Linked DNA regions of Homo sapiens: all the other regions are linked to region 2. The links are contacts of gene promoters, found by promoter capture Hi-C in blood cells and fetal thymus (Javierre and others, 2016). All regions are on one chromosome and are shown on one strand. The core of a region is centred on a gene start or on the middle of the fragment in contact, and the rest is flanking DNA. Distances in the headings are between cores, read along the strand shown. Region 1 overlaps CPSF3 (cleavage and polyadenylation specific factor 3). Region 2 holds the start of RPS7 (ribosomal protein S7). Region 3 overlaps ADAM17 (ADAM metallopeptidase domain 17). Region 4 has its middle 6.1 kb from the start of PDIA6.

What was found. The method cuts DNA at HindIII sites, captures the fragments that hold promoters and counts their contacts. A CHiCAGO score of 5 or more calls a contact.
Region 1: a contact is called between a fragment that was not itself captured here and the fragment with the promoter of RPS7 in region 2, in 1 of 17 cell types (total B cells). The highest score is 5.4, in total B cells.
Region 3: a contact is called between a fragment that was not itself captured here and the fragment with the promoter of RPS7 in region 2, in 1 of 17 cell types (total B cells). The highest score is 7.5, in total B cells.
Region 4: a fragment that was not itself captured here is called in contact with the fragment with the promoter of RPS7 in region 2 in 1 of 17 cell types (neutrophils); the score reaches 7.5 in neutrophils.

The regions. Positions count from the first base shown.
Region 1 is chr2:9,425,968-9,429,332 of GRCh38, forward strand. It overlaps CPSF3 (cleavage and polyadenylation specific factor 3), which reads left to right. Exons shown (of 18, transcript NM_016207.4): 2 at 2,798-2,861. Among named protein-coding and RNA genes, the nearest start is that of CPSF3, 4.0 kb to the left of the region's middle. The HindIII fragment of the contact is 3,044 bases long and covers 200-3,243 here.
Region 2 is chr2:3,573,611-3,576,739 of GRCh38, forward strand. It overlaps RPS7 (ribosomal protein S7), which reads left to right and starts at 1,650. Exons shown (of 7, transcript NM_001011.4): 1 at 1,650-1,740; 2 at 1,982-2,074; 3 at 2,207-2,278; 4 at 2,877-3,020. The coding sequence starts at 2,000. It overlaps LOC124907726 (a long non-coding RNA gene), which reads right to left and starts at 1,499. Exons shown (of 2, transcript XR_007086196.1): 1 at 525-1,499. RefSeq lists enhancers at 1,203-1,778, 1,779-2,355 and a silencer at 1,907-2,196. The HindIII fragment of the contact is 5,628 bases long and covers 310-3,129 here.
Region 3 is chr2:9,541,246-9,544,254 of GRCh38, forward strand. ADAM17 (ADAM metallopeptidase domain 17) reads right to left here. Exons shown (of 19, transcript NM_003183.6): 2 at 1,908-2,040. Among named protein-coding and RNA genes, the nearest start is that of ADAM17, 13 kb to the right of the region's middle. RefSeq lists an enhancer at 530-709. The HindIII fragment of the contact is 1,176 bases long and covers 858-2,033 here.
Region 4 is chr2:10,817,393-10,820,421 of GRCh38, forward strand. It overlaps a transcript of PDIA6 not described here. Among named protein-coding and RNA genes, the nearest start is that of PDIA6, 6.1 kb to the left of the region's middle. RefSeq lists an enhancer at 2,321-3,029. The HindIII fragment of the contact is 3,696 bases long and covers 1-3,029 here.

The DNA of each region.
Region 1 (3,365 bases), core at 472-2,971, 5.9 Mb after region 2:
TGTTCTGGACATTTCATGTAAGTGTGATCATACAATACATACTCTTTTGTCTCTGGCATCTTTCATTTAGCATAATCTTTCCAAGGTTCAAAATTGAGGAGTTTTGTTCATTCAATAAGTATTTTTTGTGATGTGCTACATGCCAGGTACTGTAGCAATACAGCAGTGAATAAGATGGACAATGCCTCTGTTCTTAGGAAGCTTTCATTTAGTAGCCTGAAAGAAGACATAAGTAGGTACAATAACTTCATGTAGTTGTATTAAGATAACTGATGCTGGGTTGTGGCTTGCTGTGAAGGGCAAATTAGAGGAGGTAGTCAAGGGAAAGCATCTGAGAAGGTGACGTTGGAACTGAGACCCAAATGATACAAAGGAGCCAACCACATCAATATCTGAAGACAAAGCATTTCAGGAAGAAAGTAGAGCAAGTACGGGGCATGTGGTGGAAACTAGTTTGGCATCTTGAATATGAAGTCCCGGGAGAGATCCTAGTAGAGATACCTAGTGTCACGTGTATGTATTAAAGGTCTAGAATTCAGAAGAACAATCTGGGTTACAAATACAGGCTTGGAAGTCCTTAGCATGTCAGAAAGATGAGAATGAAGATTGAGAAGTTGGCCAAGGAGCAAACCCTCGGAATATCAACATTTAAAGGGTAGGCAGAGGTGGCTGAATATGTGAAGGAAACAGGAAAGCCAGCAAGACAAGATGAGAGCATCAGGTCAGAGAAGCCAAGGGAGAGGTGCTTGAGGAAGGAGCAGGTACTCCTTAGGAGTGACAACGGCTGCCAAGAGAACAAGATAGGGACTGACACCTATAGTTCCAGCTACTTGGGAGGCTGAGGCGGGAGGATCACTTGAGCCCAGGAGTTGAAGGCCAGACTGGGCAACATAGGGGGACCTTGTCTCAAAAAAAAAAAAAAGACTGAAATGACTACTGAGCAGCAAGGACAGTTTCAGAAAAGTGATTGGTAAAAGCCAGAGTATAGCGAATTGAGGAGCGAGTAGAAGGTGAGGAAGTACAAGAGGGTCCACTGCCCTGGGAGGTGGTCTGGGGAAAGAATAAAGTGGGAACTAAAGGAGCTTAGAGTCAAGGGATTTTAATTTGGGGATGAACATGGCTGTAGTATGTTTAAATTTGGATTGGATGGTAAAGAGCAGACAGTGAGGAAAATGTCAATGACACAGCAGTGTTGAGTTCCTCAGAAGGAGGGAGGGAGTACGTAGAGTAGAATGGTGGAAAGTTTCATTGTGGAAAGAGAGGTCTATTCTATCTATAGAGGAGAAATAGAAGGAGACAGATGTGGGCAGGTTGGTACCCTGTTGGTACATGTATTCTTAATTATTGTACCAACATGAAGTTGAGGAAATTTACAAATGGACTGTTTATTTTTTTGATGCAGAAGATGGCCCATGCCTCAAGTGAAGAAGAGGATAGAAGGTTGGAAAATTTGGGAAAGGGAAGAAAGTTTGAAAATAGTTGATATGGAAATGAAATGGAGAAAACAGCCAGGCAACATTGAGGGCCAGTTAAAGTGGAAGGCCAGGGTATCCACAATAATTACAAATAAAAAATGTTTAAAAAGTGGAAGGCCAGGAATTTATGGCGGCTCTCATCCACAGTTGTTTGATCTTCTGTATCAACACCTGTTTGGAGGTAGGATCTCAGTTTGGGGATAGATCCATTGCATGTCCATCTGACTGAGTTCCTTGAGGTCAGGGTCCCTGTAAGGCATTTCCATGTCCTAGGCACTTAATCCAGTGCTTGGCAAATAGAAGCTGCTTAATGTTGAGTGAGTGAGTGGATTGTGAGCTAGAATGGTTGGGAAAAGGCATCAAAGAAGGTGAGGGATTTGAAAGATGAGGTTTAACTTAAAGTGTGCCTTGTGACCATTGCAAATTATGGCTGAAATTATTAAGAAGAAACAAAAATTATGTAAGTAGTTGGTATAAAATATGCTGAAATAACAGAAAGTAGAAGAAAAAGTGATTGAAATTCACAGTATGAATAAGTATTTTAAAAAAAAAAATTTTTTTTTTTTTTTTTTGAGGCAGAGTCTCGCTCTGTTGCCCAGGCTGGAGCGCAGTGGCGCGATCTCAGCTCACTGCAAGCTCCGCCTCCTGGGTTCACACCATTCTCCTGCCTCAGCCTCCCGAGTAGCTGGGACTACAGGTGTCCGCCACCACGCCTGGCTAATTTTTTGTATTTTTAGTAGAGACGGGGTTTCACCGTGTTAGCCAGGATGGGTCTCGATATCCTGATCTCGTGATCTGCCTGCCTCGGCCTCCCAAAGTGCTGGGATTACAGGCGTGAGCCACCGCACCCGGCCATTTAAATTTAAGCCATTTGGCAAATACACATTATGATCTTAAAGAAGATGACAGTGTTGAAATGCTTATGGCTTTCTACTTAAGTGCTAATTCTAGAAGTATTATTATATAATCTGCGTAACTGCTAGTTTACATTTTAAATACATTATAATTTAATCCTAAAATTCAGAAAATTGAATTTAAATCAAGCCCAAACCTTTGGGCTTCTTGGATCTGTACCGCCTTCTCTCTTAATTTTAAGAACTGCAAGATCCCTGGACTCCCAAGGATCAGTTTTCATCTGTTCTCATGTGGACACTGTTCTTCCCTGTCTTTGTGATTTTGTAGAACTCTCTTACGTCTCAGAATTTTTCAGTGAGGTGCTGTCATCAGATGGCATGTAGTGTACATTGTAAAAAAGTGTAAGTTTATTGGACTTGGTTTTGATTTTTTTTAATCCTTCTTTTTCTCCCCTTGAATATTTACAGTGGAGCTGGGCAAGAAGTAGGAAGATCATGTATTATTCTCGAGTTCAAAGGAAGAAAAATAATGGTAATTACTATTTTTGTACTCAGTTTAATAGTATGGCTCTGTCTGTATTGGGTGTTAGTCTTTTCTCATAGACTAGTTATCTTTTTAGCTCCCAGAAAAATGTTATAGTACATGTAATCTATGCTGTATAGTGTTAATGAGAAAAACTAATACACACTTCTACTTAGTAATTTAGTTGATTAAGAAGATATATTCTATGACTGTAAAATTGTCAGCTAGATCTGTTGAACTGTTACCTCTTCAAAGTCCCTCTTCCACTCCTGAAGGGTTGAGCCAGCCTAACTGCCCCACCCCCAGTGGAAGATCCCAAGGGCCCAAGCACTCTGAACACACTGAGAGCTCTAGCCGCCTCCAGCATGTGGGGATCAAGCCTTGGCCTAGAAGCTTGGATCCCCAGGTCCCACTGGGGCTGCCGGCCTTGGCCAAGTCACTTTGCTTCTCTAAGCCTGAAAGGTAGAGGGGTTAGAGGAGATAGTTTCTAAGGTACTCATTAGAAAGTCAGTT
Region 2 (3,129 bases), core at 400-2,899:
ACCTCGTGATCCACCCGCCTCGGCCTCCCAAAGTGCTGGGATTACAGGCGTGAGCCACCGTGCCCGGCCCATGATTTTAAAAAAACCTCTCAGAAATAGAAACAGAGGGAACTTCCTGAATTTGATTAAAAATACCTGCAAAATCCTAGAGCTAATATTATACTTAATGGTGAAAGACTGAATGGTTTTCCCCTAAGATGGAGAACAAGGCACGGATGTCCTTGCTCACCACTCCTATTCAACAAAGGACTGGAAACCAGAAATAACTTTAATTTTTTTTGTTCTCAAGTGATAGGTTCACAGAGAAAAAGCTTTACTGGATGAACTTTTAGATTACTACTTTTATAGAGCAGCAGAGATAAAAGCCAGGTCGAAAAGTGCATGTGGAGTAAGGAAATGGACCTAGTTCGACAAAAGGGCTCAGAACGACTGCCCAGATGAGATTGTAGACGCAGCTGTAGTTTACTTTCTATCTGGAAGAAACTTCAAGTTATCCTTAATTTTCCAAGGAGACAGTCACTTACCTTTTAAAAAACATTATTAGAGAAGCACCGGGCGGGAGCATATCTAGCATTAAAAATGTGGGATGAATACCATCTCTGCTTGGTAAAGGTGGTTGGGAATCCTGAGAGAGGGCACCTAGTGTGGCTTCTGCATTTTTCACAGTGCCTGGACCACGGCTGAAAGTAACTCTTGCATGACATTTGACAGAAGAGGAAACCGAAGCTCAGATTAAATTCCCTGTCCACAGCGGGATCATTCGGCACGAGTTCCTCCCTGTCTGGAATGCTCTTCCCCAGCAATAGATCCTGCGGCTCTTCCGTGTCTCAGTCTAATGTCATTCCGTTCCAGGATTCCCGACTTCTTAAAGCATAAATAATCCCTCCCCACCCTCTCATTGTACTGTTATGTAAGTTATTACAATATGTCATTATATATTTAGTCATACTGCTTTAGGTAATGTCTTCTCCACTGAACTGTAAGCTCCATGAGGGCAAGAGTTCAGTCGGTTTTACTTAATAATTAGCACCTAGTACAGTACTAGCATAGAATGAAGGCCTCGCAATTTTTTTTAAATTTATTTTTAGACAGGGTCTTGCGCTGTCGCCCAGGCTGGAGTGCAGTGGTGCAACCTCGGCTCACGGCAGCCTCGACCTTTCGGCTCCAGCGATCCTCCCGCGTCGGCCTCCGGGGTAGCTGGGACTGCAGGCGCGCACCACCATGACTGGCTAATTTTTTTTTTTTTTTTTTTGTAGACATGGGGTCTCGCCATGTTGCCCAGGCTGGTTCCTGAGCTCAAGTGATCCTCCTGCCTCGGCCTCCCAAAGTGCTGGGATTACAGGCGTGAGCCTCAGCGCCCAGCCAAGTTAGCCTTTTTTAAACGTCCTGTCTCCGGAGGTTGCCGAAGTTGGTTTTCTTCGGCCTCCTTCTCTCTCCCAGGCCCAGGGCTGGGACGAGGCCGGTTCCCGCCTGCAACCTGCACTGAAGACGGGAACCTTGGGAGCCGGTACCGGAACGCTCGGAAACGGCACCAAAGTACGAATCCTAGGGCGGAAAAGCGTTACCAAGACACTCGTCCCCAGAGCCGCTTCCTGGGACTCTCTAGCCTCCTACCGCTTCTCAGTGATGTTCCGGTTTCCGCCCTCCTCCTCGCGCTGTTTCCGCCTCTTGCCTTCGGACGCCGGATTTTGACGTGCTCTCGCGAGATTTGGGTCTCTTCCTAAGCCGGCGCTCGGCAAGGTAGGTTGGCGGCCTGCTCTCCGACAGAACTTTTCTTCTTGGGTTGAGGAAAACGCCTTTTGGAGTCAGGCCCTGGAGGGGCGAGCCTTGCTCACAGGGTGGGGATACAGCCGATTACCCGCCCTGTGCTTTCCGATGGCTTCTGCGGGGCGAGCGGGGCCTGGCCGGGGGGTGCGGGCGGGAGGGCGAGCCAGCGGCGCCTGCAGCCCGGGCCGCGTAACGCTGACCGCTGTGCCTTCAGTTCTCCCAGGAGAAAGCCATGTTCAGTTCGAGCGCCAAGATCGTGAAGCCCAATGGCGAGAAGCCGGACGAGTTCGAGTCCGGCATCTCCCAGGTGAGAGGGTTTCCCTGGGGTCTGGGGTGGGGGGAGGCGCCCCGCCCGGGAGGGGAGGCGGCCGCGCGTGTGTTGGGCCCGGGGTGCTCGGACGCGCGCTCAGGGTCGGTCCTGCTGTTCGTTGCTTCTTAGGCTCTTCTGGAGCTGGAGATGAACTCGGACCTCAAGGCTCAGCTCAGGGAGCTGAATATTACGGCAGCTAAGGTAAGCTGGCGCTCCCTCGGCTGGGAGGGAGGTTGCGGCGCGTCTCCCCGCGCAGTGCCTGAGAGGGTTGGACCTGGGTTACGGTTGATGATGACTTGCCGCCTGGCCGCCTAACCTGAACTCAGGTTCGGCCGTGTTGTTTGGGAGTGATACCGCCCAGGTGCGGGGAGTGGGGTTGCAGGTACCCTGCGGCTTAAGCTGTCCACATGCGGGCGGTGGAGAAACGTGGAGTAGGGAGGGCCTGGGCCCATTTCGGACCTTATTTGCCCTTACTTAGTTATAGATACGGCAAAGAGCTGTGGGGAGCTCAGGATGAGATTCTCTCTACCCTTAGCCCGGAGTTGCCGCAAGTGGGGGTGCAGAAGTGGTAGTGATTGGCCTCCTGGCCTGAACAGTCTCCCTTCCTGGAATAAGGAAATGTGAAGGTTGGAGAGAGATGAGAACATTTCCGAAGGATGCATTTATGATTAACTCAAAACTAGTATTAGTTTGTAGTGCAGCTACGGTGTTAGTGATAAGGTCTTCTTATCCTCTAATTTGACCACAACGTTTACTTTCTGAAGCAGTTAACACAGTGGATTTTTGTTTTTTTCTTTAGGAAATTGAAGTTGGTGGTGGTCGGAAAGCTATCATAATCTTTGTTCCCGTTCCTCAACTGAAATCTTTCCAGAAAATCCAAGTCCGGCTAGTACGCGAATTGGAGAAAAAGTTCAGTGGGAAGCATGTCGTCTTTATCGCTCAGGTATCTGTTCTACTGTTGCAGCACGTTTCTGTTTGTGAATTTTGCTAAAATTGCTTGTATTTAGACTGCATTGGTAGTTGGAGTCATGAAAACAATCCTTTTATGAATC
Region 3 (3,009 bases), core at 196-2,695, 6.0 Mb after region 2:
ACCTATAGGCAAAAAACATGCATTAAAATATTTTGGGTCGGGCACGGTGGCTCACACCTGTAATCCCATCACATTGGGAGCCTGAGGCAGGTGGATCACCTGAGGTCAGGAGTTCAAGACCATCCTGGCCAACATGGTGAAACCTCATCTCTACTAAAAATACAAAAATTAGCTGAGCATGGCAGTGGGCTCCTGTAATCCCAGCTACTCGGGAAGCTGAGGCAGGAGAACTGCTTGAACCCGAGAGGTGGAGGCTTCAGTGAGCTAAGATCGTGCCATTGCACTCCAGTCTGGGCGACAAGAGCAAAAACTCTGTCTCAAAAAACAAAAAACAAAACAAAACAAAAAATTGGAAGTTTACAAAGGAAACCTCTCTGGGTCTGAGAAGTCTAACTGAGTTAGAAGTAAAAACTTTGCATATCCTCCATGGCTTGTTTTTTAAACCAGACGCACATATTCCTTTTATTTTTTAACATAGTTGAGAAGGCTTGTCCTATATAAAGAATAAAGATGGCCAGATGCAGTGGCCCCTGTCTGTAATCCCAGCACTTTGGGAGGCCGAGATCGTGGATCACTTGAGGTGAGGAGTTCAAGACCAGCCTGGCCAACATGGTGAAACTCTGTCTCTACTAAAAATAACAAAAATCACCCAGGCGTGGTGCTGTGCACCTGTAGTCCCAGCTACTTGAGAGGCTGAGGCACAAGAATCGCTTGAACCCAGGAGGCAGAGGTTGCAGTGAGCCAAGATCACACAACTGCACTCCAGCCTGGACGACAGAGCAAGACTCTCAAAAAAATAAATAAATAAAGAATAATTCAGTCAATTCTCCATGTGTCTGTTTTTTGATACTGAATAAAGCTTCCTAAAGACTTTAAAAAGAGGCCTGCAATTATTTAACATTTCAATGTGCAAAACAATACGTGGTATTAAAATTACTACTGAAATAGAACATATCCATCAATTTATGCTAAGAAGTAAGAGGAACTCAATGTAGAAAGAATATTAAATTTGGGCCAGGCATGGTGGCTCACACCTGTAATCCCAGCACTTTGGGAGGCCAAGATGGAAAGACCACCTGAGCCCAGAAGTTCAAGATCAGCCTTGGCAACATGGCAAGACCCTGTTTTTAAAAATAAATAAATATGAAGCAGGTTAAAGAATCCTGGAAACTAAGTAACTAGTTAGCTAAATAAATAAATAGAACAGTAAAATCTAGACCCAGCTCACCACCAGGCTGTGGGGTCCTGAACAAAATCTTTATCTCTTCATATATAAAGATAATATTTAGCACATGATTGATGGTTATAAAGTAGCACCAAAAACAAAAGGTTTTATAAGCATTCAATTAATTTAAATTATGTTAGAATTTTCTAAACATCGTTACCATCATTAACACCTCTGCAATATCTATTTACTTTTTTAAAAATACTCATCAGTATGAACTTTATTTATTTTATTTATTTATTTTTTGAGACAGAGTCTCACTCTGTTGCCCAGTCTGGAGTGCAGTGGCACCATCTCGGCTAGTGCAGCCTCCACCTCCCTGGTTCAAGTGATTCTCCTGCCTCAGCCTCCCAAGTAGCTGGGATTACAGGCACGTGTCACCATGCCTAATTTTTGTACTTTTAGTAGAGACGGGGTTTTGCCATGTTGCCCAGGCTGAGCTTGGGCAAACTCCTGAGCTCAAGCAATCCACATGTCTTGGCCCCCCAAAGTGCTCGGATTATAGGCGTGAGCCACTGCACCCAGCCCCAGTATGAATTTTAGAATAAGCATTATACTGGAAATTAATTACAAATCTTTAAAATGTAATTTCCCAAGATTTCAGTAGATACCCTTACTTTTTTGTTTTTGCCAAACCAAGCCCCCAGTGCCCCAACATTATTCCATGAATAATTCAAATTACCTTTTCAAAGCTGAAAAAGTTAGTAGTGTTTCTACATGTGTTGAAGTCTGTAGATCTCTTTTTCTTACCGAATGCTGCTGGATATTAGATAAAGAGAGAATATCGTAGTCTGAGAGCAAAGAATCAAGCTTCTCTGAAATAAAGGTAAAAAAGGTATTAGCATCTAAACCTAATAATCAATTGTAGTATCGTTAAAATGAGAGTGCCAGACAATAAATCTTTCCTGATGTAATCCATTAGGAAGTGCCAAGCACAAACTATAAATCATTTTTTATCAACAGAAACTCCACTGCCTCTTCCAAAATCAGGATTTTTAGAAGACAAATTGGGTGACTTGAGTCTCTTTAAAAACTGTCTAAAAATATTTGCACTGATGCCTTCCCTTTCTTTCAACAACTATCACTGCAGACACTATGGTATTCAAAATCCTTCCAATGGACTTAGAAGGTCCTCAAAATACAGCAACAGGAGCTTAAAATACAAGTTTATTGCTACTGATGTTAAATATGCTCACAAAACCAGTTTTAAAAGAAAGACTCTTACTCATGTGTGGAAGCTAAAAAAGTGGATCTCGTGGAGGTAGACAGCAGAATGGTGGTTACCAGAGGCTGAGAAGGGAAGTGGGAGTGGTGGAGATGAACAGAAAGTGGTTAGTGTTACAAAAATACAGTTTGATTAGTAAGTTCTAATATTTGATAGTACAGTACAGAAATTATAGTTAACAATTTATTGTATACTTCAAAACAGCTAGAAGACTTGTAATATTCCTAACACAGAAAAGATGTTTCAAATGATGGGTATCCCAATCACCCTGATTTGATCACTACATATTATACACAGGTATCAAAATATCACATGTACCCAAAAAACACATATCACTAAATAAAACAAAAACTCAATTTAACCATACAACTGCCAAGAGACACCCCCCACCTTTCCCAAACCCCTTCTTTATCCTCTACCCAATACCCTACCCTCCTACCCTCCTACCCTAACTGGCTTCCAGAATGCTAGCAATTAGGCCTTTACCTTCCAGAGGAATATGGAAATCTGACAATCTCTAATGAAAAACCTAAGATTCTGATATCAAAAGTTTCCCAAA
Region 4 (3,029 bases), core at 349-2,848, 7.2 Mb after region 2:
TCATCTTTCTGGGTTAGAATAAAGAACTGTCCCCAAGCACCAGAGTTGAGAGTGACTCTTGTTTTAGGGCTTGTGGAAGAGACTGCAAGCAATGAAAATCAAAGTTGCAGATTCTGGAAATTCCTCCACAGTCGCAGAACTGCAGCCAGGTATATACTGCCTGCCACACTTCACCACACAGCTCCCCCGGTGGGCGCCCAAGGCCTTGCCAATGGAATGGGAGAGGAGGTGATAATCCCAACTGCTTAGCCAGGTCCTGTTCCTCTTCCACCAGGCGGAATTGTTGGACTTGGGGCACCCCAGCTTCTACCATGCAGACCCCCACAGGGACCTTGGGGCCACTGGAGCAGTGACAGGGAAGGAACCCAAGTCTAGAATGACCGGGAAGATCAGTGCCACCCTCCAACCTGGATGGCTCACCATGTAGCTGTTACTTTAGAGAGAAGATTCTATAGTTTTAGCCATTGTATTTTGGAATAACTTGCCACAGGAGTTTAGCTTGACTTTGACTAATACAGGGCTTAATGTTCTCAGGGTGAAGAATCTGGGCTAACGTACCCACAGAATGAACAGGGTAGATCCGACAGGGGACATGTACCTCTTCCTAGGGGTGCTCAGGAGACACACAGTGCTCCTCTCTGGACTTTCTCATTCATTCTGAGGTTCAGATCATAGGTAGAGTCGAGTCTTATTTTCAGTGGGGATAGGCAGATGAAGCCTTTTAAAAATACTGATAAAACGCACATAACATAAAATAAAATTTACCACTTTAACTTTTTTTTTTTTTTGAGACAGGGTCTCACTCTGTCACCCAGGCTGGAGTACAGTGGTGTGATCATAGCTCACTGCAGCCTCAACCTCCTAGTGTCAAGCAATCTTACCACCTCAGCCTCCCAAACAGCTGGACTACAGATGAAAGCCACAACACACCTGACTAATTTCTGTATTTTTTTTTTGTAGAGATGGGGTTTTACTATTTTGCCCAGGCTGGTCTCAACTCCTGGCCTCAAGTGATCTGCCCACCTCAGCCTCCCAAAGTGTTGGGATTACAGGCGTGAGCCACTGTGCCCAGCTCACTTTAACCATTTAATTTATTTATTTATTTATTTATTTATTTATTTATTTATTTATTTATTTATTTATTTTGAGATGGAGTTTTGCTCTTGTTGCCCAGGCTGGAGTGCAATTGCACTATCTCGACTCACTACAACCTCTGCCTCTGGGTTCAAGCGATTCTCCTTCCTCAGCCTCTTGAGTAGCTGGGATTACAGTCTTATGCCACCATGCCTAGCTAATTTTGTATTTTTTTTAGTAGAGATAGGGGTTTGCCATGTTGGTCAGGCTGGTCTCAAACTCCTGACCTCAGGTGATCCACCCACCTCAGCCTCCCAAAGTGCTGGGATTATAGGCGTGAGCCACCATACCTGGCCTTTAACCATTTTTAAGTGTACAGTTCCATGGCATTAAATGCGCTCACATCGTTGTACAACCTTCATCTCCAGAGCTTTTTATCACCCCAAACTGAAACTCTATCCCCATTAAATGCCAAATCCTCATTCCCCCTCCCCCTGACCCCTGGCAACTGTCATCCTACTTTCTGTCTTTATAAATTTAACTACTCTAGACATCTCATGTAAGTAGAATCCTATAGTACTGTCCTTTTGTGAGTGATTGATTTTACTTAGCCTAACGTCTTCAAGGTCCATTCATGCTGTGGCATGTGTCAATTTCCTTCCTTCTTAAAGCAGAGTCACATTCCATCATATGACTAGACCTCATTTTGTTTATCCATCCGTCTGTTAGTGGACACTTGGGTTGTTTTCACCTTTTGGCTGTTGTGAACAGATGGAGGCTCCTACTCTGGGAGTTTCCTCTACTTACCGGGTGCATTAGCCATGGTGGTTGATGGATACATTATGGGACTTTTCCTTGATAGGGAGTGGGCAGGAGAAGTTGGTGAGCCTGAAAGTGAGAGAGAAGAGGAGATGAGTGAGGTGGGGATGGGGAAACTATTACCGAATGTTCACCATATGCCAGGCTCCACGTATTTACATCTGTGAACCTGCTAAAACTGCTTTTGTTAATCAACGAAAAGTTATAGTGCTGAAAAATCTTATTCCTGAAAAAGCACAGACTGTTATAAACTGTGCTATTTGAGATAAATAGAGTAAGAATGGAACATCCTTCTTTTGTCTGAAGGACCTGGGTCATCTTAACACTGAGAAGCTGCCTTGATTTCCAACCCAGGGCCTTCTGGACACAACATTGCACATTTGTCTTAACTTCATCATTTCCAAGGAAAGAGGAACCTCCATCCACTTCGTAGCCCAGGTCTGACCGTAATTCCTTTATACACAGTTGTGTTTTGCTTTGAGCCTATTAAACACTGCTTTATTTAAATCTTACCTACAACTTTCCCTTCTCCAACACCCTATGGTAATCCTGTTGGCTTGCTTGGTTAGAGTTGCCCCATGGGTCCTCTGAGGTGCCCTCTCTTGTTGCAGTGATCCGAGAAGCCCGCCTCTGCTGGTCTGCAGGTTTGTCCTGCTGGTCTCTATTAGATGGGGCCACCATGTGTTGTGTTTCGTTTAATCCTCACAGCAGCCCTGCAGTTAGATATGACTAGTCTCACTTTACCGAGGGAGACACTGAAGTCCAGAGGTGTTCTTGGCATAGTGAAGTGGCCTCATTGTCTGGGGTAATACCTGTGGTTCGTTGTCTCATGGTCATGGAGATTAAAGACGTGGACCCACGAAGAGTTAGGTTAAGAGCGGAAGTTTAATAGATGAAAGAGAGAGAATAGCTCTCTGTTATAGAAGGGGGTCCCGGAAAAATGGGTTGTTGATCTGTGGTTAAATGTGGGGTGTTTTATAGATGAGTCGCTGGGGAGGTGGTGTCTGATCTACAGAGGGCATGAAAAATTGATTAGGACCAGGTGTGTCATTTGTATAAGGTGTACATTTCTGGCAACCCCCACCCCAGTATTTTATTACAGGTGTGTTTTCAGTCTAAATTGTCATGTTGCCCAT